4 separate regions of the Homo sapiens genome follow, and all the other regions are linked to region 1. Evidence: promoter capture Hi-C in 16 types of primary human blood cells and fetal thymus (Javierre and others, 2016). All regions are on one chromosome and are shown on one strand. Each heading gives the region's core, a stretch centred on a gene start or on the middle of the fragment in contact. The rest is flanking DNA. Distances are from core to core; before and after follow the strand shown.

Region 1 (7,112 bases), core at 2,022-4,521:
CAATGGTTTAAATACATGTAGGTAAAAAACAATCATGGAAAGAAAAAGTATTAGTAGAAGGTCAAACACTGAGGAAAAATAATGGAATTATCTATTCACAACGGTTTATATGGTTTATATAACTGCTAGCCCTGAATCTCAAATTTAGTTCTAGGATTTCTGTCAGCAAAATTAAAGAGTAAAAACAGAATAGTTTACAAGATAGAAGAAATATATCAGCTCCTCAGTAGGAACTAAGATCTTTGCCTTACATTAACATTTTAAACATTTTAATTGATAAATATAACATGTGTGTAGAAAATGAACAAAATGTACAGCTCAGTAGATTACCACAAAGCAAATACTTTTGTAATTAACAACTAGAACATGAAAATAAACAAAGCCAATAAATACATGAAATTCTCTCCTCCCTCTGTCCACTTCTAATCACTGTCCCTTCCCCCTCCCGAAGGTAACTATTATCCTGACCTTTATGGTAATCATTCCTAGATTTTTCTTTATCATTTTAACACTAAAGCTTACATCCCTATACAATATAGTAGAACTTTGCCTGATGGAATTTATATGGGATTTATTTAACATTATGGAGGAGGGTTGGGAGGTCTAGCTTTTTTTTGCTCAACTTTATGTTTGTCAGATTTATCCATGTTGTCGCACAGAGTTGTAGTTTTCATTTTCATTGCTATTTTGTTGTGTGAATATAGTTCAATATATTTATCATTCTACTGTTGGAAAGCATTTGGTCCACTTACAGTATGAAGTAATTTTGAATTGAATTTTACTGCTAAAAGCATTTTTCTTCTTCTTTGTTTTTTCTTTTTTTTTTCTGTTGCCCAGGCTGGAATGCAGTGGCACAATCATGACTCACAGCAAGTCAACTTCTGGGCTCAAGTGATTCTCCTTCCTAGTAGCTGGGACTACAGCCATGCGCCAAAATGCCCAGCTAATTTTTTGTATTTTTTGTAGAGATGGGTTTTCGCCATGTTGCCCAGGCTGGTCTCAAACTCCTGGGCTCAAGCAGTCCACCTGCCTCGGCTTCTCAAAGTGCTAGGATTACAGGCATAAGCCACTGCATCCCACCAAAGCATTTTTATAAACTGTATCTTGATGAACAAGTCCATGCATTTAAACAGAGAATATTCCTCAGAGTGGGATTGCTAGATCAAAAACTGGTTTCCAAAGTGGTTGTGCCAAATTATACTCTCACCAGCAGTACGTGACAGCTTCCATTGGTTTACTGCCTCAATACCTATATTGTCAGTCTTTTTAACTTTAGCCATTCTGATATGGTTTTCATTTGCATTTTCCTGATTAAAAATGAATCTGATTTTTCCATAAGTTTGTTGATAATATTTTCTCTTGTGAAGATCCTGCTCAAGGGTCTCATCCACTTTTGGTTTTGACAGTCAATCATTTCCTTAGTGATTTGTATCAGTTCTTCATATAACCTATATATAGGCCCTTAAATATGTCTTATAAATATTTTCTCCCAATTTGTGCCTTGCCCTTCCTTCTCTTTAATGTTGTTTTTGAATGGACAGAAGTTCTCAAATTATCAATTTTGTGTAGTCACATTTATAATTATGCCTGGTGACCTTTGTTTTATTTCAAATGCGTTCTGTCATGAAGACAATTTATACCTTCTAAAATGTTATTTTATCTTCTACAATTAAATTTATAATGAATATATATGCACCTGATTTGGGGATAAAGTTTGAGGTAAAGGTCATGTTTCTTTCTTTTTCTACATGAACATCAAATAGACCAAGCACTATTTAATTTCAAAAGTCCTTTTACCATTGCTCAGAAGGGTCACCTTTGTCTTAAATCGTGTTCATTTATATGGAAGTCTGTTTCTGTGCTATCCTGTTTCTTTCATCTTTGTCTATCCTGACACCATCATAACACTGTCTTAATTACCATATAAGTCTTGATACCTGGTAGATATCAACCCTCATTATTCTTCGAGAGATCTTCAAGAGTTTATTGATATTTTTGGTCCCTTGCATTTTCATATAAATTTTAGAAAAAACTTACCATGTTACACACACACAGTCACACACTGGGCCTTCATATGTATTTATGTTGAATCTATAGGTCAGTTTGGAAATAGCTGACATTGTAACAATATTGAGTCTCACAACCCATGAACATAGTGTAACCATTTATTTAGGTCTTCGTTTTCTTTCAAAAAAAAAATTTTTTTTTTTTTTGAGACGGAGTCTTGCTCTGTTGCCCAGGCTGGAGTGCAGTGGCGCAATCTCGGCTCACTGCAACCTCCACCTCCCAGGTTCAAGCAATTCTCTGCCTCAGCTCCCAAGTAGCTGGGATTACAGGCACCCGCCACCACGCCTGGCTAATTTTTGTATGTATGTATGTATGTATGTATTTACTTATTTTACACGAAGTCCCCCTCTGTCGCCCAGGCTGGAATGCAGATGCGCGATCTCTGCTCACTGCAAGTGCAGTGGCGCAATCTCGGCTCATTGCAACCTCCGCCTCCCAGGTTCAAGCAATTCTCCTGCCTTGGCCTCCCCAGTAGCCGGGACTACAGGCACGCACCACCATGCCCGGCTAATTTTTTGTATTTTTAGTAGAGACGGGGTTTCACCATGCTGGTCAGGCTGGTCTTGAACTCCTGACCTCGTGATCCGCCTGCCTCGGCCTCCCAAAGTGCTGAGATTACAGGCTTGAGCCATGGCGCCCGGCCTCAAAAATGTTTTATAGTTCTCTTTGTAGGAAGGACAATCTTTAACTTATTCCTAGTTACTTGCTATCTCATGCACTATTATAAATAGTATCTCTTTAAAACTTCAATTTTATATCTGTTGCTAATCTATTGAAACACATTGATCTTTGAATATTGACTTTGTATCCAGCAACTCTTAAATTAATTTAGTAATTTTTTCTACTTTCTTTTGGATTTTTCTATGCACATAGCATCTATGAAAAATTAACTGTATTTCCTCTTCTTGAGAAATTCGAAGACTCTCAATAATCTGAATTTGACTAACGTGCAATTTTCGTTGTAAATTCAATAAAAAGTTGCTAGTGTATTCAATCTTTCCAACTCACAAGCTCCCACTCTCAGTTTACGCGGACCTGACTACTACCCGAACAACCCCCACCAGTCTGGAGGATTTTGAGCCTAGACACTCCTCCAGAGCAGGCTCCTGTCCCGGCTGCGGAAGTGCGCGCGCCCTCGGCACCTTAACAGTTCCGCCCCTCTCCCGGACCCAGCCAATCAGCGGCCGCCTCTTGCGCGCGCCCCACCGACCAAAATGGCGGCTGCCGTTGGTGCGGGGTGCGGTTTGTAGTGCTGTTGCCCTACTCATCCCTTTGCAAAATGTGAAAGAAGAAGCGGCTGGTGGAGGCGGGCCATAGGCAATGAGTCGGCGAAGGAAACATGATGACAGCCCTAGCCCGAAGAAAACGCCGCACAAAACAGTGGCGGCGGAGGAATGCGGCTCGGTGGTCGAGCCAGGGAGGAGGCGGCTGAGATCGGCCCGCGGTTCGTGGCCCTGCGGGGCTAGAGAGGGGCCTCCCGGGCCAGTGCGGCAGCGAGAGCAGCCTCCGACCGCCGCCCTGTGCAGTAAAAGTAACCCCGAGGGTGAGACGTCGGCAGCGCGGCCTGCCTTGGCTTCGGCGCCGCATCCCCACATCCCAGCTTGCAACAGGGAAATCTGGGGTGGGGGTGGAGTCTGGAGCGTGTATTCTGTCTCTGGGATTCACCCCTCGAGAGTCCAAAAATAATCCTATACCACTCCCCGATGGGCTTTTGTCCCCGAACTTCAGCACTACCCCGTTAGGTTTGACCATCCATTTGCCTCCGCCACAGGAATAGGTAATGTGGTTTACCTGTTTGCGGGAGGGCGGCTGCTTTCCAGGCTGCTCCTCCAGTCAGCAGCAGTGGTGGAGTGAGAAGAAACAGCTGATAGGCCCGCTAACCTCAGTTTTTGCCCGGAGAAGTTATTTCTCTTTAAACCCTTTTTTTCCCTGTGACCTGCTTTAGAGAAGAGTTCATAGGAAAAGTTAAAGTTTGTCTCAAAGCCTGGTAGATGTCTCACCTCATTGTGAATAAACCGGAAGTTCCTGTGTGTAACATCCCTCCAAATAAGATACTAAGGATCTCTTTCGTCTCGATTAGTTTTAGGTGTTACTTTTTAAAAGACTTCTAGTAAATCTTAGTTGGAACTGAAACTCATACAAAAGCCTTTATTCTGGAGCATGTTCTTGAAATAGTGCTTTTTTTTTTTTTTTTTTTTTTATACCTTACGTGTCTTTTTTCTTTTGGGAAAGAATCTCGCCCTGTCGCCCAGGCTGCAGTGCAGTAGCACAATCTCGGCTCACTGCAACCTCCGCCTCCCGGGTTCAAGCGATTCTCCTGCCTCAGCCTCCCAAGTAGCTGGGACTACAGGCGTGTGCCACCTCGCCCGGCTAATTTTTTGTATTTTTGGTAGAGACAGGGGTTTCACCGTGTTAGCCAGGATGGTCTCGATTTCCTGACCTCGTGATCCACCCGCCTCGGCCTCCCAAAGTGCTGGGATTACAGCCACCGCGCCCGGCCACCTTACATGTCTTTAATAATACTCCTATAAAGCAATTTGGGAATGAACAAAAATCTTTATAAAAATTTGAAAGTGATTCTAGACAAAAATTCCCAAGCATTGGATCACTAATGGTTTTTGAAGAATGGCAATTAATGTAGATTAGATAGAGTTGGTGAAAGGGGGCTAAACATATTTAGGTTTCTGTTGGGTTACTTTGGATTTTTGAATGTACCTATAAATTACAGATGGTTCCCCAAAGCCTCCAAGACTCAATGGTAATAAATAGAATGACTTAGGTTATACAGTATTGTATTATGCATTCATAAAGCTTCTGGATTATCTAGAAGTGTTTGCTATTTACAATGTGAAGTTTGCGAAGTGCCGCGTGGATTTTTATGTGAAACAAGCATTTCTGTTACGGTTCAGGTAATTATCTCTGGGAAAAAAAATTATCTTGGACTATAAAAGTTAGTCTCAGCTATTTGACCTTGGGGTCTTACGAAGTAAGGTAATGCTTTAAAATGCAACAATTGTTATTTTACTCATATTTTATATAGAAAGGTATGAAACACCAAAGAGAGCGCTGAAAATGGACTCACTGTCATCTTCCTTCAGTTCTCCTAATGATCCAGATGGACAGAATGATATCTTTTGGGATCAGAATTCTCCATTGACAAAGCAGTTAGGTAATTAATTATTAACATTTTTTATGTGAGTAAATATTTGATAAATGATTCAGATTTAACTAGAATTCTAGTCAGATAATAGCATCGGGAACCTCTGAGAATGTTATATGATTTTATCTGTATAAGTATGTGATGTAAACACATAATCCTCTAAGCTGCACTAAATAAAATTACTTTCTAAGAAGTGACAGCTGTTTTTTAAAATGGAGGGTTTTTTGTTTAAAATTTATAGAAATGTCTTTGTTTCTTTAGGTAAAGGAAGAAAAAAACAGATTTACACCACAGATAGTGATGAGATTTCACATATTGTTAATCGTATTGCTCCTCAGGTAAATATCACTAGTTTTACAGTTTGTTTTAAAACAGTGAAGAATGTGCCACTAAGTTTTTGTAGTTTCTTTAAATGAAAAGTATTGTCTATTATAATTCTTTTTTCCAAAAATAAGGCAGCAAAGATTACTGTTTTGCCTTTTCTACTTTTGAAATACATATTTTGAAAAAAGGAATATAATATAAAATACAAGATATTTTCTTAAGTATATATCTTGTTTTAATTTTTTAGAGTAATTTTTGACTAGGGCATTGTGTTTATCTGTAATGTTGTGCTTAACAACATACGACATCATTTTTCAAGTTGCTAAAATAATAGAATAAGGCAGTGAAAAAAGTTTATACTTCTATGATTGTTTTGTGATTGGTACTTCCTGTCTGTAACATTTCCCCATTGAAACTATTAATACTCATTTCCTTATAAGATTATCAAGAAACACTTACAAAAGTGGAGAGCACTGAATTCAAATTTAGTCCTCATTCAACCTCCTATGCTGTGTGACCCAGTGCAAGTTATTTAAACTCCCACCACTTCAGTTCATTCAGCCATGAACTAGAATTATTGTGTTGCTCTTGCTGTCTTCATTGGATCATTATGAGAATTAAACTAGATAAAAATTCTTTGTAAACTATAGAGTGCTATAATTGTAAGGTTACGTTAAGGTTGTTACTGTAATAGAACCATCTCCAAAGCTTTTTTTTCTTTTCTTGGACAGGCATGGTGACTCATTCCTGTAATCTCAGCATTTTGGGAGGAAGGCTGAGGCAGGAAGATTGCTTGAGGCCAGGAGTTTAAGACCCTGTCTCTTAAAAAAAATTTTTTTTTGAGTGTTTCGTTTCTTTTTTTCATTTCTGTTCTTTTATTGTTTGAGTGAAATAGAAATATGTTCAAGTCAATCATTTGACACAAAGCAATCCAGTAACTCTAATATTATAATTACTAAGAAGCAAAGGCTCAATACGTGAAACTGTTCTGAACTTCTTTACTTTTTGTTCTCTTTTTCTTATTTAACATTTAAATCCAGAGAACATTTTTGCTTAGTGTCTTCTCTGAAGGAAGTATGCCATTTTTCCTTAACCTGCGCTTGAATAGTTACTATATGTTGACCATAAACAATAGATGGCACTGGCCCAAAACATGGTTTGAAGAATTACTGTCACCCAGGTGGAAGAGACAGAAAATGAAGTTTTTCTTAGCAGCTATAAAATATCCAAAATTACACCTAGCACAGTCAAAACAACTCTGTTGCTACTAGCTCTACATTCCATTTTTAGCATGTCATAGAAATTCATTTTACTTACAGTTAATTAGTTAAATAGCATTTATGCCATAATAGTACTTACTCTATAAGTTAACAATAGATCTTCATTAATTGTGGGTTTCACATGAAAGAAGCATAATAAAATGTGTTTGGGTGGGCCAGTCTAAATAGTGATAAAAAGATAGTTGTGAATAAATTATTGGACTCTTTACCTAAGTGGGCTAGAAATAATAGCTCATATAAAGAAATGACAACAGTACGCAAGTGGTAACTTGTATAAAAGA
Region 2 (7,112 bases), core at 2,684-5,183, 1.8 Mb before region 1:
CCCATTTTAAGATGGGGGTGGCAGAAGGTGGGGGGATGGCATGAGAGTGTAGATCGTAGATAATCCTAATCACAGCTGAAGTAAAGCTGCCCTGTGTGCACAGGATCCCTGCATAGAGGCCCATGGGATGACTGGAGTGCCCATTTACCCAGTAGGGCCTGGTGAGTAATAGCATGGGCCTGGGCTGCCTGTGTTCTCCAGAGGAGGACTAAGATGGGGGCTGAGAATCTGAGTGGGCCACAGTCATTTATGCAGCTCAGGCTAAACCACTTCTGGATGCTCGAGAGTTGGTTGCAGTTGATCTTTTCAGTTTCTAAGATTGGAAGTTGGCATCACCCATGAGATAGTCACGATGGCCTCCAAGGACAGGGAGATTTTGAGTGTGGCCTGACCCCTGCTCTGCTGTTCTCCCCAGTGCCAAGGTAAAGGGATTCATTTGGCTTTTCTTTCCCTTATGGAAAAGCCCAATTCACTGCTTTTCACTGTGGTTGCAGTGTGGAAGTACTCCTTCTGCATGAATTAAAAGGAAACAGAAGCAAGCATTTTCCAGAAATTCTAAGTTGAAATGAAAAACCTATTGGCTTTGGCTAAGTAGTTTATTTTCTCTTTCTTTCTCCCCCTTCCTTCCACCACCCTTTTTGGATTTTTTTTTTTAACACTATCATATGAGTCAGAATAGGTGTATCACTTTTAATTATTGTTGATTACCATTCATGTTGGAACAGCTACCTTGTAACGCCATCTCCTATCAGGAAATAAATGCCGACTTAGTGACCTGCGTGAGATAGCTAGCGACCCATCCCACTGGGGAGATGGCGGGCAGCCGCCTGGCGCTTGTTGAATTAAGAAGTGTGACTACAGTAATTAGCAGCAAGTATCCACCACAGGATAGAGCAAATTCAGGGCAGAGCTCAGTCGTCATACAGGTTGACCTTGGTGTGGGAGAAATGAGGGATTTGGGATTGGGGCCTGGAGGGTTGGGGCAGGGGTCGCGAGAAAGAAGGTCAGTAGCAGAAACCAATTTGACATCTCTGAGCTTTTGTAATAGGATTTACCCCAGGCTTGTAGACCTGGGAATTGTCGCCTATGTAAAAGCTTGTGGCCAATTCGGCAGCCCTGGAGTGTGTATTTGGGAATGGAAGGGTTAAGTCTTGACTGCTTTGCCTCTAGTATGTGCTTAATGGAACACAAACAAAAAGGAAGAGACATAGTGTTAAAATAGAACTGGGGCGCAGATTGAGATGATACGTGATTACTAGCAGTTGTACAATTTATGGAAAAAATGTGCATGCAGGTCTTTTAGGAAGTGTAAATAAAACAGATGGATTTATGGAAGGGGGAAGTAGGCTTTACACACCCAGCTCCTAGATCAACAAATGTTGCCCTTAAGGTAAATTTTTGAAAAATGTTCTAAGCTTATATTAGTCACACCCATTTATTTTTGGCATAATTTGTGCACTCTTTGGAAGTTGGCAAGAGCAGGAATGTTGGGGCCAACATTTGGTCTTGCTTCAGGAGTTTCTATGAATATGAATGCCTGAAGTTTACATAGGCTTATGCCGTCTCTATAGCAACGTGTGTTTGTTGTGAAAATCTAGCCTTTTAAAGTCAAAAATCCATATGTTAACCTCAAATTCAACACGCTATCTAATTCTGGTGTTTAAAAAACCCTTTTAGGACTGTTGCACTTTTAATATTGGATTGGATTGGAGGGTGAGTTCATGGGTGTCCCTGGACACACACACACACACACACACACACACACACACACAAACGCGTGTGCACACAAGGTCTGTGCAAGGCAGACCTCTTGCTTATGGAAGTTAACCTTCATGTGCCTCCAAATGGAGCTGGATGAGAGGAGCTTCAGATGATCATGGAGCTGCCCAGGGGAATCTGAGAGTCACGTTTGAAGCACCAAAGGAGAAAATGACTTGGTAGATTGTGCATTTTCCACTGGGTGTTTGGAACTTGGGGGAGACCTTGGGAGGACCATCAGGCTGGCTCTGGTCTTCCCCAACCTAGAGAACAGACAGCAGGCTGTAGGGAAACTGGCAAGAATGAGGCCGCAGAGCCCAAGGCACGGAAACTTATCTGTGCATCTTAGTACCTGTCAGATTTTCATATGGTTGGAATTGTTCTTGAACTTAATGGGGTTCTTGGTTGAACTCCAGTGAGATAACAGTTGTAGGTGGGAACCTGAATATATTTACTGCTCTCTTCAGGGGAAAGAACTAGCTTTTTGCAAAATTATGATGTCCTGTGCCCATAGTCTCTGGGTTCTGGTGTCCTGCATTTTTCAGGGATGCTCTTTCCCGAGACCCAGTGCTTCCTAAGATCCTCATGCTCTCCCCTCCCCAAACTGGCTCTCAGAATAGCATAGGCTCAACTCTTTTAGACTGATGTTTAAGAGGAAGAGAAGGAAGAGAAGTGGACTTGGAACAAAGATTGTGTTTCCCATTAGAATCTGGGGCCTACCTCTTAAGAGCGGCCATTGAACAATTTGCAGATACTCTTAAATCCTCAATTTTGGCATAAAGAAAACAACACCAGCTCAAATGAGATAATGGATGTGACAGAGCTTTGTAAATTCTCAGCTCCTATTCAAATGTGAGTTTATTATTACAATCACTTTAATAAGGGATGGCAAATAGTGTTCTACTCAGATCCTAGCTTTGCTCAGTGGGTTGTAGCTGCTTGCAGTGTTGTGCTGAGAAAGATTCTGAGATTCTTTCACAAGGAAGTGCGGAGATTGACTAGTGATGTCTGTCATGGGCACCAGAAGCCTGGAGGGGTCCTATCCAGTGTCAAGTGTTGGCACTTCGAGATCCATTTGCTTTTTAAGAGTGATAGAGAGTATGAAAAAAGGAGATAAATCTTTAAAGTAAAATTTTAGATATCAGTGTGTGGCAAAGGCATTGTTTTGAGGAAGTGAGCCTCTTAATGCCCAGAATCAAGCTTGTGTATAGTTCTGACTCTGTCATTGGAAGACAGTTCTAATGTTATTTCCCAAGGCTGTTTCCCTGGTTGTCTGGTTACGGAGGTGCTAATAATTGGGACATGTGTTTCTTTTTCCCTTTCTGTTGTCCCATTAATCACACTGTCTCTTTCATACATTTTGACCTTTGATAAGATTCAGCTTATCACTTGGCTCATTGTTGTTCTCTGTTGATCGCAACATGTACGGATTCTATATGTACAAATGTTTTAGCCATAGGTACAGATTCATCTGTGAAACTGTAAATTGCTTGAGGAAAGCAGTTATGTCCCACATTTTCTCTGCCCTTGATTCCTAGTCTAGTGTAGGACATATAATAATTTGCTAAGCAAATTCTGAATTGCTCAGTAAATTATTTTTCTGATTATATATTAATTTTGGAAAACTTGAAAAAATATAAATGAGTAAATAAAAAAAGATGTTAAAACATTAGTACTAGAATTAATTACCATGAACATTTTGGTAAGTTTCCTGCCAGCATTTTATTACATGTACATATTTACATATAAATTTTAAAATAATTTAGAGCATACTTTATAATTACATGATCTGGATTTTCCTTTTATGCTACATTATAAGTACTTCTCTGGATCTTTAAAAGAGTCTTGGCAAATATTAAAATACTTGAATTTTAATTTTAAAACTTCAACTATTTTTTATTAGTTTGTGATTTCAACAGTAACGCATGCCATTGTAAAAAAAAAAAAAGTTGAAGATATGAAAAGTAAATATCCTCTCTCCTCTTCTCTCCTTTTTTTCACTCAGTTGATGTAACTCCTTTTTAGCAATTTCTTATATTTCTATTCAGACATTAGTTTTGCATGTACAGGCACAGAAAACGTGGGTTCATATTATTCATACAGTTTTGCGACATTTTTGCACGTATTATATCTTGGACATCTTTTATGTTACTACATACAAATCCACCTTATTCTTTTAAACTACTGCTAGGTATTCCATTCTAGGAAAATCTCATCTTTAACCAAACTTCTATTGATAGCTATTTAAGTGATTTCCCTTTTTTATATATATTTTTTGAGACAGGTTCTCACTTTATTGCCCAGGCTGGAGAGCAATGGTGTACTCACAGCTCACTGCAGTCTCAACTTCCTGGGCTCAAGTGATCCTTCCGCCTCAGCCTCCTGAGCAGCTGGGACTATAGGCTCATGCCTGGCTAATTAAAAAAAAAATCTATATATCTATATATATTTGTAGAGACAGGGCTTCACTATTCTGCCCAGGCTGGTTTCAAGCTCCTGGCCTTAAGCAATACTTCCTTGGCCCCACAATGTGTTGAGATTATAGGCATAAACCACATGCCCAGGCCTTTTTTTTTTCCTCTTATAAACAATGCTGCATCAGGCATCTCTGTGCATATATTTCTGTGCGCATCTTTGCACATATGTTTTAGTGTACAAGTGTTTATGTAGGATGAATGCCCGAAATGGAAATTCTGGGCTAAAGGGAGGGTTCACATGTAAAGTATTAAAAGATATGGACAAGTTGCTCTCCAAAAATGTTTATGCATTTACATTCTCATCAGCTATGCATAGTCTTTCTGGTTTCCCATACTCTTATCAATAATGGGGACAAAAAATGAAAAACCACACACATAAAACCAAACAAACAATAATCTCACTGTTTTTAAATTTACATGTCATTCATTATAAGTGAGTCTGTGCATTTATTCACACATTTAGCCACTCGTATTTTTTATTCTATAAACTGCAGTTCACATACTTTGTATATTTTTGTATCATGTTATTTATAAGTTTCTAATTGATACATTTTATGTCTTTAGATATTAAGAAAATTATTTGTTGTATGTGATAGAAGTAGTTCCACAATTTTTTTTTGTCTTTCTCTGACTGTTATGGTGTTTTTACAGCAGTTAAAAATGTTTATGTATTCAAGCTTGTTAGTTTTTTTCTCAATTATTTTATTTCATGTTAAGAAGAGTCTAATTTATTCCAAGATAATTTAGACCATTCCCCTGTCTTTCCTTTACCGGTTTAAAAAATGTTATTATTTTCATGTTATAAGAGCATGTTATTTTCATGTTTAAATTAAACAAAAATGTAATATAGGGTACTGGCATAAACTTTTCCCCAAACATTTAGCTAGTTATCTTACACCATTTGTTGAATAATCTATATTTTCTCTTGTGATCTGAAGTGCTACCTTTATCATATACTAAATTCTTATATATGACTTGGCTTCCTTTGAACCTTCTACTCTTTCTAGTCCTACATTTGTTCCTTATTGTTTAAATTATTATAGTTTTAACATATTTTATAACAGTGAGGTCTAGACTATACTTGTTAATCTTCTTTTTAAAACACATTTCTTGGCTATTTTCACATGGCCTATTTTCCCAGATGACCGTGGAATCATTTTGTTAAATTTGTACTTTCCCAACAAAACAAACAAAACTGTTTTTGAGATTTTGATTGGGATTATGTTGAATTTATAGACTAAGATGGAGAGAATTACCATCTTTACACTACTGAGACTTCCTACCCAAGAATACAGTTTTTATTTCATTTTATTCATATCTTATTTTGTGTTTCTCAGTAAGCATAACTTTTAAAGGCTTTACAATACTTTGCCTATGGATTTACCATAATTTACATGATTCTTCCCTTATTGCTGAATCAGTTCCCATCTCTTTCTACATTAAACAATGTGACAGGGAGCATTAGTATGCTTTGCTCTTTGAACATGTTTTGCCAATTTCCTTAGAATACATTTCCAGTGGATCAAAGGATCTAGGCATTTTAAAGGCTTTTGGTAGCTATTGAGAGATGGCTTTTTAGAGAGGCTCAAATAATTGACCCTCCTACTGGTAGTGTCAGAGTACTTGTCTGGCTGAAGTCTCACCAGCATTTTGAGTATTAGTATTAATAGTATCTTTGCTAAGTTGGTGTGAATGAGTTAAGTGGTGGGTGGGACACAGCATTGGATGGCTGCCTCTGCCTATCTGTGAATAGATTTTTAGAAATGTTCTCCTTTGCTACATGCTTTTCTCTACAGTATAGTCAGGGGGCAGTTTTCACTCTTCACTAAGATTAGCTTTGAGCCAACTTTGAAGACATTTACTTTAGTAACTTCTTATGTTTTTTGGAAATTTCATTTGTCCACTGATATCTAGGAATGAAGGGTAAATTTTGAGAGGCGGATTTCCATTTTGTTGTGATAGACTTATCTAAGAGTAGTCAAGACAGATGAGACCCCCCACCCCCATCTGCCCCAACACACATACACACAAGTGGCTGAGACTCTGCAAATTTCAGCTGAGCAACTTGGGGTTGACTTGGGCCAAGGTTGAGAGAAGGTGTTCAAATTTCATGCTCCAAATAGGTCTCTGGAACAGAAGAGTTCTTCTTGCTTTCCAACTGCAAATGTCATTTGGATTTCCCAAGCTTAGGACCCAGAAGTGTTCTTTTGTGAGAAGCAAATGCCAAATTTACTAGGACGGCCTTAGATGGACAACCAGACAATCATACTGGTAATGCCTCTTTGCTTTGGGGTTACTATCGCTCCTGTTTACTTTGGCAGGCTTTGAGCATGGGAATCAGACATTTAAAATGCTCTCCTTTCCATCCAAAAACCCTCTTTGCTGCCACCACCTTGCTGTAGAACCCCCTCCATCAAGATTTTTTGGTGGGGTGGGTCATGCTTTTACAGGGCTGTTTCTTTCGGGGTAAGCCTATTAGGCTTCTAGGATGTTTTAATTGGGGCAGTGTAATTGTAGGGTGCCACAAAGGCCCTGGCAAGGGGTACTTTATAAATCAGATTATTATGCTTAGTTGTGTTAATGGACATTTATATGCCCTAAATCCTTCATATAGCAATGAGATAATAGCCCTTAAGGCCATAGTTACTATTTTGGGTAGCGCTTACTTGTAAAACTGGATCATTTTATTGTGAAGCTGTTTTCAGTTAGAGAGTATGTAAAACCCTTTGAAAGACAGAATTTCAATTTTGTGGTTGCTGTCTTCTATAGCTTAAATGGTAAAATCATTATACACACACACATATATATATATATGAAAGCTTTGAACCAGTTAACATTGTGCTCCTGAAGCAGGACTTCTTAATAATGGGGAACTGC
Region 3 (7,112 bases), core at 3,045-5,544, 1.7 Mb before region 1:
CCACTTCTGACAAGGTTTTCAATTAGCAGCTTGTAGAGGCCCAGCCTGTGGTCCCCATTTCAAGCTACATGCATAACTGAATTCCCCAGGAGGGGATTAAAGGGCAGAGGAAGGTGGGGGGTGGAGGCTGAGGCCCCTTGAATGGGAGGACTGAAATGTGCTGTGGGTATGGGCTGAAAGCAACACCTTGCCTTGTTTAAACTTGAGTGGGGCCAGGGGTCACCTGGGAGGTGACTCTCACAGGGATGAAAGGGGAGATGGCTGCGGCAGCAGGATATAGGGCCCCTGGGCCGGTGGTTGGGCCTCCCTGCCTCGTGTCTGGTTTCTGGTGGGATGGATACAGAAACTGGTGCAGGGAACTGCTCAAGCCTGTTGGTGCTTAGGAAGAAGGAACTTGCTCTCCATTTTGGGAGGTGAATGAAGCTCCCAGCTCCCTGATGGCTTTTCCCCATGGGAGGCCTTGGTCATCTTGAGCCTAGGTTGTGTGTTTAATGCCTGGGCTACTTTGAGCCAGTGCTCTCTCCTCTCTGTCCAGGGCAGGGAGGATACCACTGTTCTGCAGGCGTTTCTGATGGCTGCTTCCTCTTCACTGCCAGGCTAGGTCTACACTTCATCCGGTAGCCACACTGACTTTCTTTTTATCTTTTGAAAGCAGGATCATTGTTTTAAGGAGGGAAAAAGTCAAGATGTTCATGCTCCCCAACACACATGATATGCATTTGCCACCTCCAGCACGGAGCTTGTGATCCACCTGAAAATGAGGGCTTGTCCTGTGGAATGACAGCAATGTGCTGTGGTCCACACTGGAAGGAATGTCTTGTTTGAACTTTTATGGGGCCAGCAGTCATCTGAAAAATATGATGGCTCAAAGCCAAATGCTGTGTTCTATCATAGAGGGGTAAAGAGGATTTCTAAAAGAGGTTGCGAGTGGCCTTTAAATACCCAGTATGGGGTTGATGTCCCTTTCTTGTGATCCCCAGACACAGTTTGCTCTTGAGAGGACTGATGGCCTGGGATATGTTATTGATGGTCCTGAAAGGGATCTGCGTTTGAATAGGTCAGAGAAGATGTTCTGGAAGTCTGGAGACTGGGATACGCTCCCTTCCCTACAGGTTCGAGAGGGCTCTGAGGAGCAGTTATAGACATGTAATGAGGATCCAGGCTCCAGATCTGTTCTGTGGGAGAAAAAAGTGAGGAAAGTGAGTTTCTGGATAAATCATGGTGATCCTTGAATTTGAAGTTGTCCCCAAAGTTTATCCTCCTCATCAGAGCATATGATCATAGCTTCTGTTTTTTCTGTATTTTCCTTTTCTTCCCCTGCCTTGTTTCCCTCCCCACCTCACCACCCACCCCCTCTGCAGCCTCCCTGCCTCCCTCCCGCAAACACATTTTTTTTCCCAGCCAAGTGCTTGTTGAGGGCTGTGTGGGGGAACTAGCTCCCCACAAGACAGAGGAACATGTGAAAACAGGACCCTGATGAAGCTGGACTCAGGGCCACCCACTGCCAACATTTTCTAGGTGAACAAGAGTGAATTACAAATGCAGGCTGGAGGCCGGGCGCGGTGGCTCACGCCTGTAATCCCAGCACTTTGGGAGGCCGAGGCGGGCGGATCACGAGGTCAGGAGATCGAGACCATCCCGGCTAAAAACGGTGAAACCCCGTCTCTACTAAAAATACAAAAAAAATTAGCCGGGCGTAGTGGCGGGCGCCTGTGGTCCCAGCTACTTGGGAGGCTGAGGCAGGAGAATGGCGTGAACCCGGGAGGCGGAGCTTGCAGTGAGCCGAGATCCCGCCACTGCACTCCAGCCTGGGCGACAGAGCGAGACTCCGTCTCAAAAAAAAAAAAAGAAAAAGAAAAAGACAAATGCAGGCTGGACCTCGGTGCTCGGAGCCACACCAGCAAGAATTGCCTGTGTTGAGGACAGCGAGGGGGACACACACACACACACACACACACACAGAGAGAGAGAGAGAGAGAGAGAAACCTGCCTCCCAGGGAAGACTGTGAATCTCAATGGTGTTTCCCTGTACATGGTTTCAGCATTTAAAACATCCTGCAAATGAGGCTTTTCCTGATCTGCACGAGTGGGCTCTCCCCTCCTCCTGCATCTGACATCCCTGCCACCACCCACTGATTGGGTTGAATGATTTGATGGGGCATTCATCAGGAGGTTTGGGTGTCCCCGATGAGTAAATACACTTGCTGTTATGAGCCCCATACATAAAAGGGAAAGTATCACATTTTTCTCTGAATTCTTGAGGAAATTGCTCTCATATACAACACCAACCTTTGGCTGCGTGACAGAGATGGAGTGTTGTTTGCATGCCATTATCAGGCTGTAAAGTCTGGTCAGGGCTGCCTTTTCGGAGTTTCCAATCTTTTGGGATCCTGGGAGGGTCACCCTGCGGGTCAGGTTTGTTTAGTCTGGTCCGTAATGGTGTAAAGTGGCCTTGACTGTTGAGCCTCCCTAAATAATGCCCTATCTGTTTGATACTTCAACAGTCCCTCGGAGTTGTATATATGTTTCACTTTCTAATATTCGAAGCTGAATTGGATTTCATTGTTAATAGATGGGAAATTGTTTCTAAAAACAACCTCATCTTGCTTTGAAAGTTAGCCAGAGTTCAGAGGGCCCCTGCATTTTAACGGGTGATCTATGTTTTCTCTGGGAAAATCATAGAGCACTTCTGTGTTTTTGTATGCATGTTACTCACTCTGCAGCTTTTTAAAGGGATTCATCTGAACATATGCCACTTTAAAAAGCTTTTTATTAAAATATAATGTACATATAGATAAGACAGCACATATAATAAGCATACAGTGAATTTTAATGAACTCAATACATTGTAGCAACTGGCCCCAGATTAAGAAATAGAACATCATCAGCACCCCAAAAGCCCCCTCATGCCTCTCTATGGGAACATATACTATTTTAAATTTCTCTTATTTATAATTTATTCAAGGTTTTCTGTATTGCACCTTATTCTGTTTTTCTCAATGGTGTAACATTCCCTGAATCATCATATACAAATAAGGGAAAAGAACTTGTCTGATCTGCTGGGTCATAATAAACAGTACCTATCTAGAATCCTTCAATATGGCATTGTAATGTCCTATGGAGCTTTGTAAATTCATCAATATCTTGCCAAAATGGAGTTCATTTTTATAAGAATCCCTCTAGGTGCTCAAAGCTTGCTTCTTTATCTATTAGACACAAGAAAAGCCTGGTTTCACAGATGAGTCTAAATAGCATTGGTCTACCTAGCTCACATCCTAGTTTTGTGAAATACTATCTTTATTTAATTTAATTTATTTTATTTTTTTGAGACAAGGTCTCACTCTGTCACCCATGCTGGAGTAGAGCGGCACGATCTTGGCTCACTGCAGGCTCCACCTCCCGGGTTTAAGCAATTCTTCTGCCTCAGCCTCCTGAGTATCTGGGACTACAGGCGTGCACCACCACGCTCAGCTAATTTTTGTATTTTTAATGGATATGGGGTTTGGCCATGTTGGCCAGGCTGGTTTCAAATTCCTGACCTCAAGTGATCTGCCTGCCTTGGCCTCCCAAAGTGCTGGGATTACAGGCATGAGCCGCTGTGCCCAGCCCTTGTTTTGTGAAATACTATCAAACCCACTTTATGAATGTTAAGTAATTAAGTCCTTCGGGGTAGAGAAAATAGTGGTGGAAGAAAGTTATTCATTGCAAACATTTTTGCTCAGAGGCTTTTGGAAGTAAATAGGTTCTCCTCCCCAGTCCAGCTATATTTCAAAAGGAATCTTGTTCGAAGCCCTATAATTGGACTTCTCCCCTCCTTTTTAAAAGTAGTTCAATTTCTTTCTTCCCAAGCTCCTCAGCTCCCAGAGCAGCTTTCATTACGGCAACATAAATAAAAAGTGACATAAAATTATACAGCCCTGTGTAAAGTAGTTTAAGGAAAATGTCTTTTATGGCAGCTTTTATGGTTTCACCAATTAGTTATTAGATTTTCTCCATTTTTAATTCGCTGTCCTGCATGTGCGTTCTGAAAGGTTTCTTCCCCCTTTCATCTCTTAGTAGTAACAGGGCTGGGGGGCGTTGAGCCCCTGTTTAGCTGACTTTCTTGTTTCATGAAGGCTTTCATGACAGCCTGTTGCTAGATGTGGGCAGAGCAAGTCCCTTGGGAGAGAAGCCAGCATTGAGCCATTCTGTGAAGTGAGCAGAGTTTCACCCTCTTCCTGTATGAACACTCAGTGTCCTGTGTCCCGCTGAGGGTAGCGGCAGGCTGGCTGCAGGATCCCGTCACAGCAGGTGGACCTTAAGCTGATAAATCCTGAATTTTTAGTAACTTTCCAAACATTCCTGGGGAGTGAGAATAACAGAGATTTACTCCTGCCAAAATTTAATCATGCAGAAAAAGCAAAATTTAGAACAGCGTATAGATTATTTTTTAATGCGACTGCTTGACAGCGGAGAACAAGGAAGTTGAATACTTGGTGCAGCCGAGTCTAGACCGCTGCAATTTGATTCATTTAGGGGAATTGTATTAGGTTTTCATTTTGGCTTGGGCTGGGCTGTATCTGTTTGGAAGTGCATGATGTCATCGTATCAAGCGTGTCACAGCCAAGGCATTCTGGTATTTATGTTGACTTCAGATCTAGCCCAGAGTACATGGGAGGCTCAATTTATTGCTACTTTAACTTTGTTTAGTCATGGAGAGGCTTTATTTATGTTGGTAAATTTCAAACAGTGGCCAAAATTAACCGCACAATGAAAAGGCCTGCCAGATTCATCATCGATAAATCATCTTGTTGCTGAGTTTCTTTAATTAAGGAAAAACTCCGTCTGTGGATCCCTGTGGTTGCTGGAAGGAAAGGAGGGTGGGGAGTACTTTGATTAATCCATCTATCAGCCTGGCTTTGGAAAGTGAGTCTCCTGTTTTTGATTGTAGCTGGGCAAAGACCTAAATAAAAATTTATCTTGTCAAAACCTATGGGCTAACTGAAAGCAAATAAAGAAATTTTATGGCATCCACATAAAGTTAAATAAATAACGAGAAAGCGTAGTACGTCCTACAGACATTTTTCAGTACAGTACGTGGCTCTGTTCTTTGGGGAGAACTCATTAACTTAAAAAAAATTACCTTTAATGGGCCACTCGTTATCGTCATCATCAAATGCTTCGCTTGTCTAATGTTCCAGTGTTTAATGCCTGATTAAAACTGAAGATGGGGGCTCATGGCTTGGTGCTGTTGGAACTACCCAGGATAGAATGCATGGCAAGTGGGGCTTCTAAAGGGTAAAATATGGACGTTGCAAACAGCACTGCCAGTATCGGGGAGAACTTTTTAAATGGATCCCTCTGGAAGGTAACTGACCTTCCTGCAACATAATGTTGCAGGGGAGGGCAACAGGGTGAAGCTTTTCGTGTCTGAATGAACAAGGGACTTCATCTCTGGTTGAACTTATCTTTCATGTGGGGGCTTCTCTCTGCTGGAAAAAGTCTAGAAAAATATATTGGGATTGAAAACCTCTTTTCATCAAATGTGGTTTAAGCAGACTTCTCTCTGGGTTCGGTCTCATGGTGGAATGCATTTTATTTCTAGGTTAAAAAAAAGTCCTTGAATCAGACAAAAGACAACAGGTAGTGATGGAGAAGGCCCATTCTCATACTAGCACGTGCTTCACAGTATTTGCTTTTTCTTTGTAGGTTATGGAAAGGAGGCTCTCTTGATACCAAGCTTCAGGATCCACCCACAGGAAAAGGTGATTTCTCAAGTGTCGAGTCTTGGCGTACGATGCATTAGGCAATCAGCCCCTGCCTGTTTGATGGAGTTGTACAATAAACATGGGCTTGGGGGAATCAAGAACATTTCGAGAAGCATCTCTGGTGGAATCCTGATGCTGGAGGCCTCTACTTTGGGATGTGACATTTTTGGGTTGGCTGACTAAAGCTGTTCCTGGAGGTCAGCTGGTGGTTTTGCAAGTTCTTGGCTTTTTCCTGCATTCTGTCATTGTGCCTTGACTTTTTTAGTGGGGCGGGATTCCCCATGACTGAGGATGGTGGTTGTGGTGATGGTGTGAACAGTGAGACTGCCCTCTACCTCAGGTTAGGAGATGTGGGAATGAGACAGAGATGGAGGGGTATGTTCTGGCTTAATCAACTGGATCAGCTTCACTAAACTGGGTAGGTTTCAAGCATTCCTAGACACCAAAGCCTACTCCTTAAATCTGCAATGCAATGTTGGTGATTTTAGCCTTCTGGAAGACCTTTCCTTAGGTTAATGAGACAACAATTTGCTTAAATGTGGGACAATTTCAATATAGAAGTCATAATCTGGGCCATGGAATTTGGTCATAGGTTGATAGAAGATTTCTAGCCACTTCATAATAATAACTATATCTTATGCATTTTTTAATCTTCTTCATTAGTTCCAAGATATAGTTTAAGGCTCTCTTGGAGTCACCTTAGTTTGCCTTTAGTGCATCAGAAAGGACACTTTGATTTATCCCAGCATGGAGGTCAGAGGTTAACAACAGGACAACAAGCATATACTAAGCTCTTGCCATGGGTGTAGCAAGTGCGGTGCAGTGTGCAGACTCCATAGAATCCTGTCATGGCCTTTGCCCAGAAGAGGCTTCTGATTTTGCAGAGGTAGGATTTATATAACTGTTAGATTGAAAGTGAGGACTTCTGCAGATGCAGTTGTAAAATGTTGTCATCCTTTCCTTCTAAGCCTGGGCTGTGGGGTTAGCTCTCCATTCCCTGGGTCAGATCTAGAGAAAGTTCCATCACTTTTCTGGCTACTCCAGGATCTTTTGTTTGCAAAAATGTTTGTAATTCAATATTATCACAGTGGTTTTCAACCCAGGTGGCCCATCAGAATTGCCCGGGCAGCTCTTAAAAAATATTGATGCCTAGGCTACCGCCAAGACCAGTGAAATAAGAATCTTTGGTGATTGGAAAAAAAAATCTTTGAGGATGAAGCCCAGACATCAGTATTTTTAAAGCTTCCCAGGAATTCCAGATGGATAGACAGGGTTGAGAACCACAGAAATGGAATGTGCAATTCCAGATAAATCATGAAAAATTCCAATTCTATTTAAAATGAAAACCTCTCCTGTTCTCTTTCT
Region 4 (7,112 bases), core at 1,654-4,153, 1.1 Mb after region 1:
TTAAAAAAGACTGTAGTAGGTGGTTGGTTAGTGAATGTGTTTAAAGCAAGAGAAGCAGATTGACAGGGCTGAAAAAAAGAGTATTTACATTTATATATACGTACATTAATAAATGTATGTGTCTGTGTACGTGTGTGTATGTATATGTGTATTTATACTGAGTGGCATAAGGTGAAGTGGAAAGAAGGAGCTAATTCCCTTCTGGTTAACGCAGGAAAATTCCCGAATTTAGAATTTTAAAAATGCAAAAGGATAAATGAAAGATAGTGTGGAAACAGTGTGGTTAGCAGGAAAAGACTAATAACTTTAACTCATTTCCAAGAGTCAACACACTGTCTGTGTTATTCTGCATATGTAATTCTGACTCCTCCAAGCAGAAGTTAGAATTGGCGCAAACCTGCTATCATAACGCTGTCAACAACACTGCAGATCGCAAAGATTAAACTTACCCTCCAGGAATAACCACTTTCTAGATCATCATCTATTTCTCTTCGGCACACAGCTCTTACAGTCATGCAGTGAGGTTTCCATAAAGAGTCACTGTTTCTTATTGTGTCATTCCAGCTCCTGCATGTCAATGAAGCCCTGCACAGACTCCGAATGTCCAGCTGACTGAAAATTTTAAAAGTGATTTCTGCAGGCAGCAGTTCAAAAAAGTTGTTTTGACTCTCATTTTTTTCCTTCTCAGCATCCACAGAGTTCGCTTCTGTGTGAGAAACTCTTAAATTATTGTTTCTCTTGGAGTTTTTATGCATAGCTTAATGTTTTAAGTTATCCTCATATGTAACCTAAAAGGCAAAATTTAAACATGCTCAGTCTCCAAATAGGAGTATAAATCCTACTTTAAGTCAGATGCTTTTTGGGTATAATTTAAGAACTCTTTCTTGACTTTAGCTTCTCAATCTGTAAAATGGGCCAATGCTGCCGCTCTCCTGAAAGTTCTTGCAAGGATTAACAGTGATAGTGGGTAAAATATCTAGTCTTGCTACATCTGAATTGCACATGGGAGGCACCCAACATGTTAGTTTCACTCTCACCCAGGCTGGAGTGCAGATGTGTCATAATAGCTCACTGCAGCCTCAAACTCCAGCCTCAAGCGATTCTCTTGACTCAGCGTACCCCGCCCCTCTTTAAAAAAAAAAAAAAGAAAAAAAAAAAAACAGAAAACCAAAAACTGTTTTACGGAGAAATGGTTCTTGCTATGTTGTCCAGGCTGGTCTTGAACTCTTGTCCTCAAGCAATCCTTCTGCCTCAGCCTCCCAGAGTGCTGGGATGACAGGTATGAGCCACCATACCCGGTACTTTTGTACCTTTGAAAATGTATATGAGTCAATCCTATTAAACTCCTGAATACTTGTTGTACATGGGAACTGATGCCTCATCATTAATTTGCAATTTGTGACTTAATCATAAACTTGCTGGACTTCTAGTTGTTTATATAAGAATTTTATCTACTTGTATCTTATAGGTAGGTAGGTGCTTACATTTGACACAACTACTATCTGAAATGGACAAGAAGATGAGATCTGGATTATGAAACAAAGTCTCAAATATTCAACTCAGTCATAAGAGTAGTGTTTTAGAAATGGCCCCTTGAAGCTATCCTACATGCATAATTACAAGCTAAGGATAATAGTCACTGAAGACATCAAGCAACAGTGAGTGACAACTGTAAACAATGTTTAGAACTCAGCTAGGTACAGTATGTGACTCTTTGAAGCCCAGATTTAAAGCTCAGTTTCAGCTAATTTACCTAAGGTGAATGGTGTAGGCTTCCCAAATCAGTTGAAAGCATGACTGGGTACATCACCATCCTTGAGTTACTTTTGTATATAAAGACAGCTTGTATTCACTTAAAATCAGTTTATTCCATTTTGCACTTCCTTTTATAACGGGGGTTGGTTGTGCAAGAGGAGAGGTTTGAGGTAAATACTTCTTTTAACTCAGCTGAACACAAATCTCTTTTCTAGACGAGCTACTCAGCTATGTTTTCGGACTTGCCAAGACCACGGTGGCTCCCATTCATGATCCAGATTAGCTGTGGTGGCTGGAACTGCAGTCTGTGTTCAACAGAGGTCTTCTTCTTGAGGGTTAGGAGAAGTAAGAAAGCAAACGTAAAAACGGGTGAGTCAAGAGCAAGTTTTTGCCATGCACCTTGGCCCCTCCCACCACCAATACAAACCAAAGCCAAACCACAACGTTCTTGAAAAGAATCTCACATTAGGAAAACGTTACAGTGCATTTAAACGTTACAGTGTGTTTATCCACTTCTCCCAGGATCTTACTGGGAGAATAAAATGCGTCCCCTTGTGGAATTCCTGTAACGGGAATGAAGGCTTTTGAATTTCACAGCAGGGGATACCTTTGCGAGTTTCTAAAATCCCACTAGGAATCTTTCTTCTACGTCCAGGTTCGCCTGGATGCCTGGAAACGACCCCTCTTCTGCCCTTTCTCCTTTATGAACTGAGCTTTCCTGAATTCTCTCTCAAGTGAAGTAAAAGCTCGTCCCCCTTTCAACTATCATTCGGAGGGATAGATCGGCGGCAGCGCAGTCGGAGGGGCGGGGAGCCCCACTCCGTCCAAATCCCGCGGGTCAGGGCTAATCACCCCACGTCCCGTCTGAGCCACCCTCCTTGTGTCCCGCGCGGGTTGCAGCTGCTGGAACCCAAGAACACAGGGCACTGACAAGTGACAACAACCGTCAGCGTTGACTGTCACTGCGGCTCCAGGCCGCGGAGGGAAGGCTGAGCTTGCGTCCAGGCCGCGTCCCCGGGAGCGTAGACACCTAAGCCAACGGGAACGGAAGACCCTTCTACCTACTAGGCCGCGGTAGCTTCTCCTCCCGCGATTTAAATCCACCGGAATTCGAATCCTTCCCCATAGCTCTTCGCATCCCGCCCACCTGAGTCCCGCCCTGCTCAGAACTCGCGCAGGCGCCGAGAGGGGCGCGCAGTGCCTTTGGGGATTGGTAGTTTTTTCCAGGGCGTCTCCGCTCGGGAAAGGAAGTGAAGAAAGCCACCAGGACTACAAGGCCCGGCGTCCTCCAAGATGGGAGGGAGGTGAAAAGGGTGTTGGGGAATAAGCCGGGGTTTTTAAACAGTAGTTTTGAGGCGGCGAGACTGGGGAATCCCCGGTTGCGTCATTAGTAGGCGTGGAGGGGCGGGACTCGTGAAGCTGCGCTGGGGCCGGGCTCTGAGAGGACCGGCGCAGCCGCGGGGAGCCTTTGAGGCCCTCCCTCGGTGTTTTTTCCCAGGGCGTGGGCTTGCCCCGCGCGTGTCTGTGGAGGGCGGAAACAGCGGAGGGGCCAGTCTCCTGGCGAAGGGGCCTAATCCTTGCCCGCCATGTCCGGGGGCTTCGAGCTGCAGCCGCGGGACGGCGGTCCCCGGGTGGCCCTGGCGCCCGGGGAGACGGTGATCGGCCGCGGGCCGCTGCTGGGAGTAAGTGTGGGCGGGGGCTTAGCGGACCCCGAGAGCCGTGGAGTTCCGCGCCGGCTCCTGAAGACCGGCCCTAGTCCTGGCCGGTTTCCCCACCGCACTGGTCCGCCGGTCCGGATTTTAGAAGTTTGGGGCCGCACGTTTTTCAGTTACCTTTAAGCCAATTCACAAACATTTCTTTATGTTGCTTTTAAAACACTGACTGTATTACCATTATTATCTTATCCAGGGATTGGCAAACTAGTGCCTGGGGGCCAAATCCAGCCTATGTTTGTATGGCCCCATGAACTAAGAATGATTCTTAAATTCTGAAATGTAAAATGTAAACAAAAAATCTACTAATTTTTCAGGGGGAATAGTTGCTCCAAGGGTTGAGGGTATTGCGGCTTGTCTTGTAAAGCCTAAAATATTTACAGTAGTGTCTGGTCCTTTACAGAAAAGTTTGCCAAACTGTGATATTACGTCTTCTAGGCTAATTTCTTTTAACCTTTGGTCTCCTTTGCAGAGCTGTGTGGACCTTATTTATTTATATTATTTATTATTTCCAGTAAAATGAGTAGCTAACCCTTCATAAGTAATGTGTATAGCGTTCGTGTCATTGGTCTAAGGAGACATTACCTATACCAACATCTTTAACTGTCTCAAGACCGTATCAGTTAGCTATTTTTATTATCCTCATTGTTCAGATGAGAAAATTGAGCCATACATACATTATTTAAAGTCCATACATAAGCTTTTGGACACATAATGCCACAAAGCTAAATATTCTCTACCTTCTTTGGGAGAGGTTTAGGAATAAGAACATTTGCATATTGCATTCTGGAATTCTATAGATCTCTTAAGTACATCTAGTTTTCTATTTTGTTCTTTAACATTCAACATTTCTTGTTTGGTGCTCACTGTGTAGAACATTTTGCAGATTCTAGCACTGTGGGGCATACAAAGATGAATGGAACATGGGTCCCTACCCTTTAGGAGTTTTCTCTTGGGACCGGGGAGACACCTGTGTCAGTGAGCTAACACCAAGGAGTAAGGAGTGTGTACTGTTGTCCTGGTTAACTTCCAGAGTCTAAATGGAACCATTGGTACTTGCCTTAGGTCCCTTCTGGGAGCAGGGAAAGGAGTGGTAGTTTAAGATTGTATTATGGAAGCTGGTCCTAAAGGGGTGTGTGTGTGTGTGTGTGTGTGTGTGTGTGTTGTGTGTTGTGTGTTGTGTACATGCACATGTGCATGTGGTAAGGTTATTGAGGAAGTAGATATTCAATTGCTGTTCATTTTTTTACTGGACAAGTGATTATTTAAATATTTAACATCATTTCTATTTTTTTCATCGTTTGTTGGCCTATACAAACACTGGAAGGAACTGTCTGGAGGCTTTATTTTTCTTTTAAATTCGTAGGTTTGAAACTTAAGAGTATGTGCTTAATCTAGTAATCATATGTCTGGTGACTAACGAGTTTTGACTTGCTTAAGAAATTGTCACCAGTAGAGTACTGTGGGTCTGGTTAAAAGGTGGATGAATTTTAGGGCCGTGGTTTAGAAACATGGCAACAGATTGCAGACCGTTTCATTATTTGTAGCTTGTTCTTTGTGTTGTCGACTTGCTAATGTGAGATGAGCCTATTTGGTATCTGTTTTTAAAAATGGTAAGGAGTGAAAGCTGGGCAATTACCTGGTCAAGATTTTGCTTTTCCTTTTGAAATAACATTCAGGGATGAGATTCTTTTGCCAAGGTTGGCGTGTATCAGAAGTGGTTATGAATGACATCCTAAGTGTGTTAAAGGAAAAATTTGGAGAACAAACAAATCGCCTTGTAGTTTTTTCGATTTTGGAGCTGACAGATGCACTCGATTCTTCTCTGCACTGGTTAAAACACAACATAAGGGCTCCTGTTTCCAACAACAGCAATTCCAGTGAGATTTATTTTTGTATTGTGAGAGAGCGAAGACTGAGTTCTAAGTGGAAAACTCAGTAAGTTCATTGTAAATTGGAATCGGAAACGATTAATATAAATAAGGATGATTTTGAACTTTCTTAATTGGGCATGTTTTTCTGAGACAAGCTTCACAAACCTTGATGGCCACACAAACATAAAAGTTTATAATCTGACTGTGTAAAATAGTCTTGGTAGTAAAACAGTTTGACAATGAGAATGGTTTTGTATTTTTATGGTGGTAGGAAAACACAACAGAGAAACCTGTCACAGAGAACAAAGGACAATGAAATTTAATCTTTCTTGTTCCCTTTGCTTTCATGTGAGTCATCAGAGAACCCCAGGTCTTTGTTTACTAGATTTTGATTCTGCTCCATGATTGGCATCAGTTAGAAGGTTTTACAGCAGGATTAATCTTCAGAGAACTTGAGTTAAAACAGCCAATCCAAAAGATTACATATTGTGTGATTCCATTTATATAACATCATTGAAATTGCGAAATTGCAAAATTTCAAAAATGGAGAACAGATTAGTGGTTGCCAAAGGTTAAAAAATTAGGCAGCAGGGCAGAAGGGAATGGATATGGCTATAAAATAGCAACATGAGGGATATTTGTGGTGATAGAAATGTGCTTTGTCTGGACTGTGTCAGTATCAATATCTTAGGTTGATATATTGTACTATAGTTTTGTAAGACGTTACCATTAGGGGAAACTGGATAAATGGTACAAGAGATATTTCTATATTATATCTTTCAACTACATGTGAATCTACCATTATCTTAAGAAATTTAATTTAAAAGGGTTTTACAGTACGACATGTCAAGCACTGTTAGGCCAAAGTATTTGCTTTATGGGTTTTAATTAAAGCTGTTACACTCTTAAATGAAATCTACTATTTCTGATTTCAGATTTTTCTTATTTTGTTTTGACAGCAGGGATTATATGACACATTTCTTTATGATCTATTTTCCTCCTAGGAAACAAGATAGCAAAAGATATCTAGTGATACTTTCTCAATGTAGATGTAATTAAATTGACTGCTTTGATTAAAAGGAGAAGAGTCCTCAGTTGGGGGAACAGGGAAGGTCATAGGCTTCAGTATAGACTCTTCAGGTGGCATCAGTTCACCACTTCTAAGAATGTTGTAAATGTTCTACAAAGTTTACACAAAGTAACCATCCCCTGACCTGGCAGCTCTATACTTTTAACTGCTTGTTGCAGAATCCTGGCTGTCCTGGAATGCTGTTCCTACCTGCTCCAACATAGGTTTCTTCCCTTACGTTTCTTTTATTTCTAGATTTGCCCTTCCCTCATTTTATTATTTAGCCTACAACCAGTGCCTAGCACACAGTAGGCCTTTAACACGTGATTTCTTCCTTCCATTTCGGCATCTCAGCCTCTCATTCACTCTACCCTCAAAAAGAGCCTAATTGTGACTTAGATATGAAAAAGGGTTATCATTGAGTTTTGAAGTGAATTTAAATATAGTAAAGATGCAGTCCTACCAACTGCTAAATCTTGAGTAGCATTCATAATGAATTAAGTTTTAACATTTTTCCTGTTTTGTTGATTGATAATTCGCTAAATTCAGGAAATAGCTGATAAATATATACTATGGTTGGATGGGAGGGAGTATAGGAGAAATAAAGGTGAATGAGAAACAAGTCTTTGCTCTCAAGAAACTTATAGTTTTGTAGGGTTAAGAGACAAATAAACAAGTATTAGTAACTAAATAAGGCTACAA

The links. The method cuts DNA at HindIII sites, captures the fragments that hold promoters and counts their contacts. A CHiCAGO score of 5 or more calls a contact.
Region 2: a fragment that was not itself captured here is called in contact with the fragment with the promoter of ETAA1 in region 1 in 1 of 17 cell types (M1 macrophages); the score reaches 5.2 in M1 macrophages.
Region 3: a fragment that was not itself captured here is called in contact with the fragment with the promoter of ETAA1 in region 1 in 1 of 17 cell types (M0 macrophages); the score reaches 5.2 in M0 macrophages.
Region 4: a contact is called between the fragment with the promoter of FBXO48 here and the fragment with the promoter of ETAA1 in region 1, in 1 of 17 cell types (fetal thymus). The highest score is 5.8, in fetal thymus.

Annotation. Positions count from the first base shown.
Region 1 is chr2:67,394,062-67,401,173 of GRCh38, forward strand. It overlaps ETAA1 (ETAA1 activator of ATR kinase), which reads left to right and starts at 3,272. Exons shown (of 6, transcript NM_019002.4): 1 at 3,272-3,610; 2 at 5,108-5,236; 3 at 5,489-5,565. The coding sequence starts at 3,388. The HindIII fragment of the contact is 4,361 bases long and covers 516-4,876 here.
Region 2 is chr2:65,611,412-65,618,523 of GRCh38, forward strand. No RefSeq gene overlaps it. Among named protein-coding and RNA genes, the nearest start is that of LINC03050, 13 kb to the left of the region's middle. The HindIII fragment of the contact is 1,954 bases long and covers 2,957-4,910 here.
Region 3 is chr2:65,658,258-65,665,369 of GRCh38, forward strand. No RefSeq gene overlaps it. Among named protein-coding and RNA genes, the nearest start is that of LINC03050, 59 kb to the left of the region's middle. RefSeq lists enhancers at 1-310, 4,173-5,372. The HindIII fragment of the contact is 2,206 bases long and covers 3,192-5,397 here.
Region 4 is chr2:68,464,391-68,471,502 of GRCh38, forward strand. It overlaps FBXO48 (F-box protein 48), which reads right to left and starts at 2,904. Exons shown (of 4, transcript NM_001024680.3): 1 at 2,821-2,904; 2 at 1,754-2,080; 3 at 450-788. The coding sequence starts at 755. It overlaps APLF (aprataxin and PNKP like factor), which reads left to right and starts at 3,195. Exons shown (of 10, transcript NM_173545.3): 1 at 3,195-3,437. The coding sequence starts at 3,342. RefSeq lists enhancers at 1,985-2,044, 2,138-3,033, 3,034-3,928 and a silencer at 3,270-3,479. The HindIII fragment of the contact is 4,492 bases long and covers 1-4,165 here.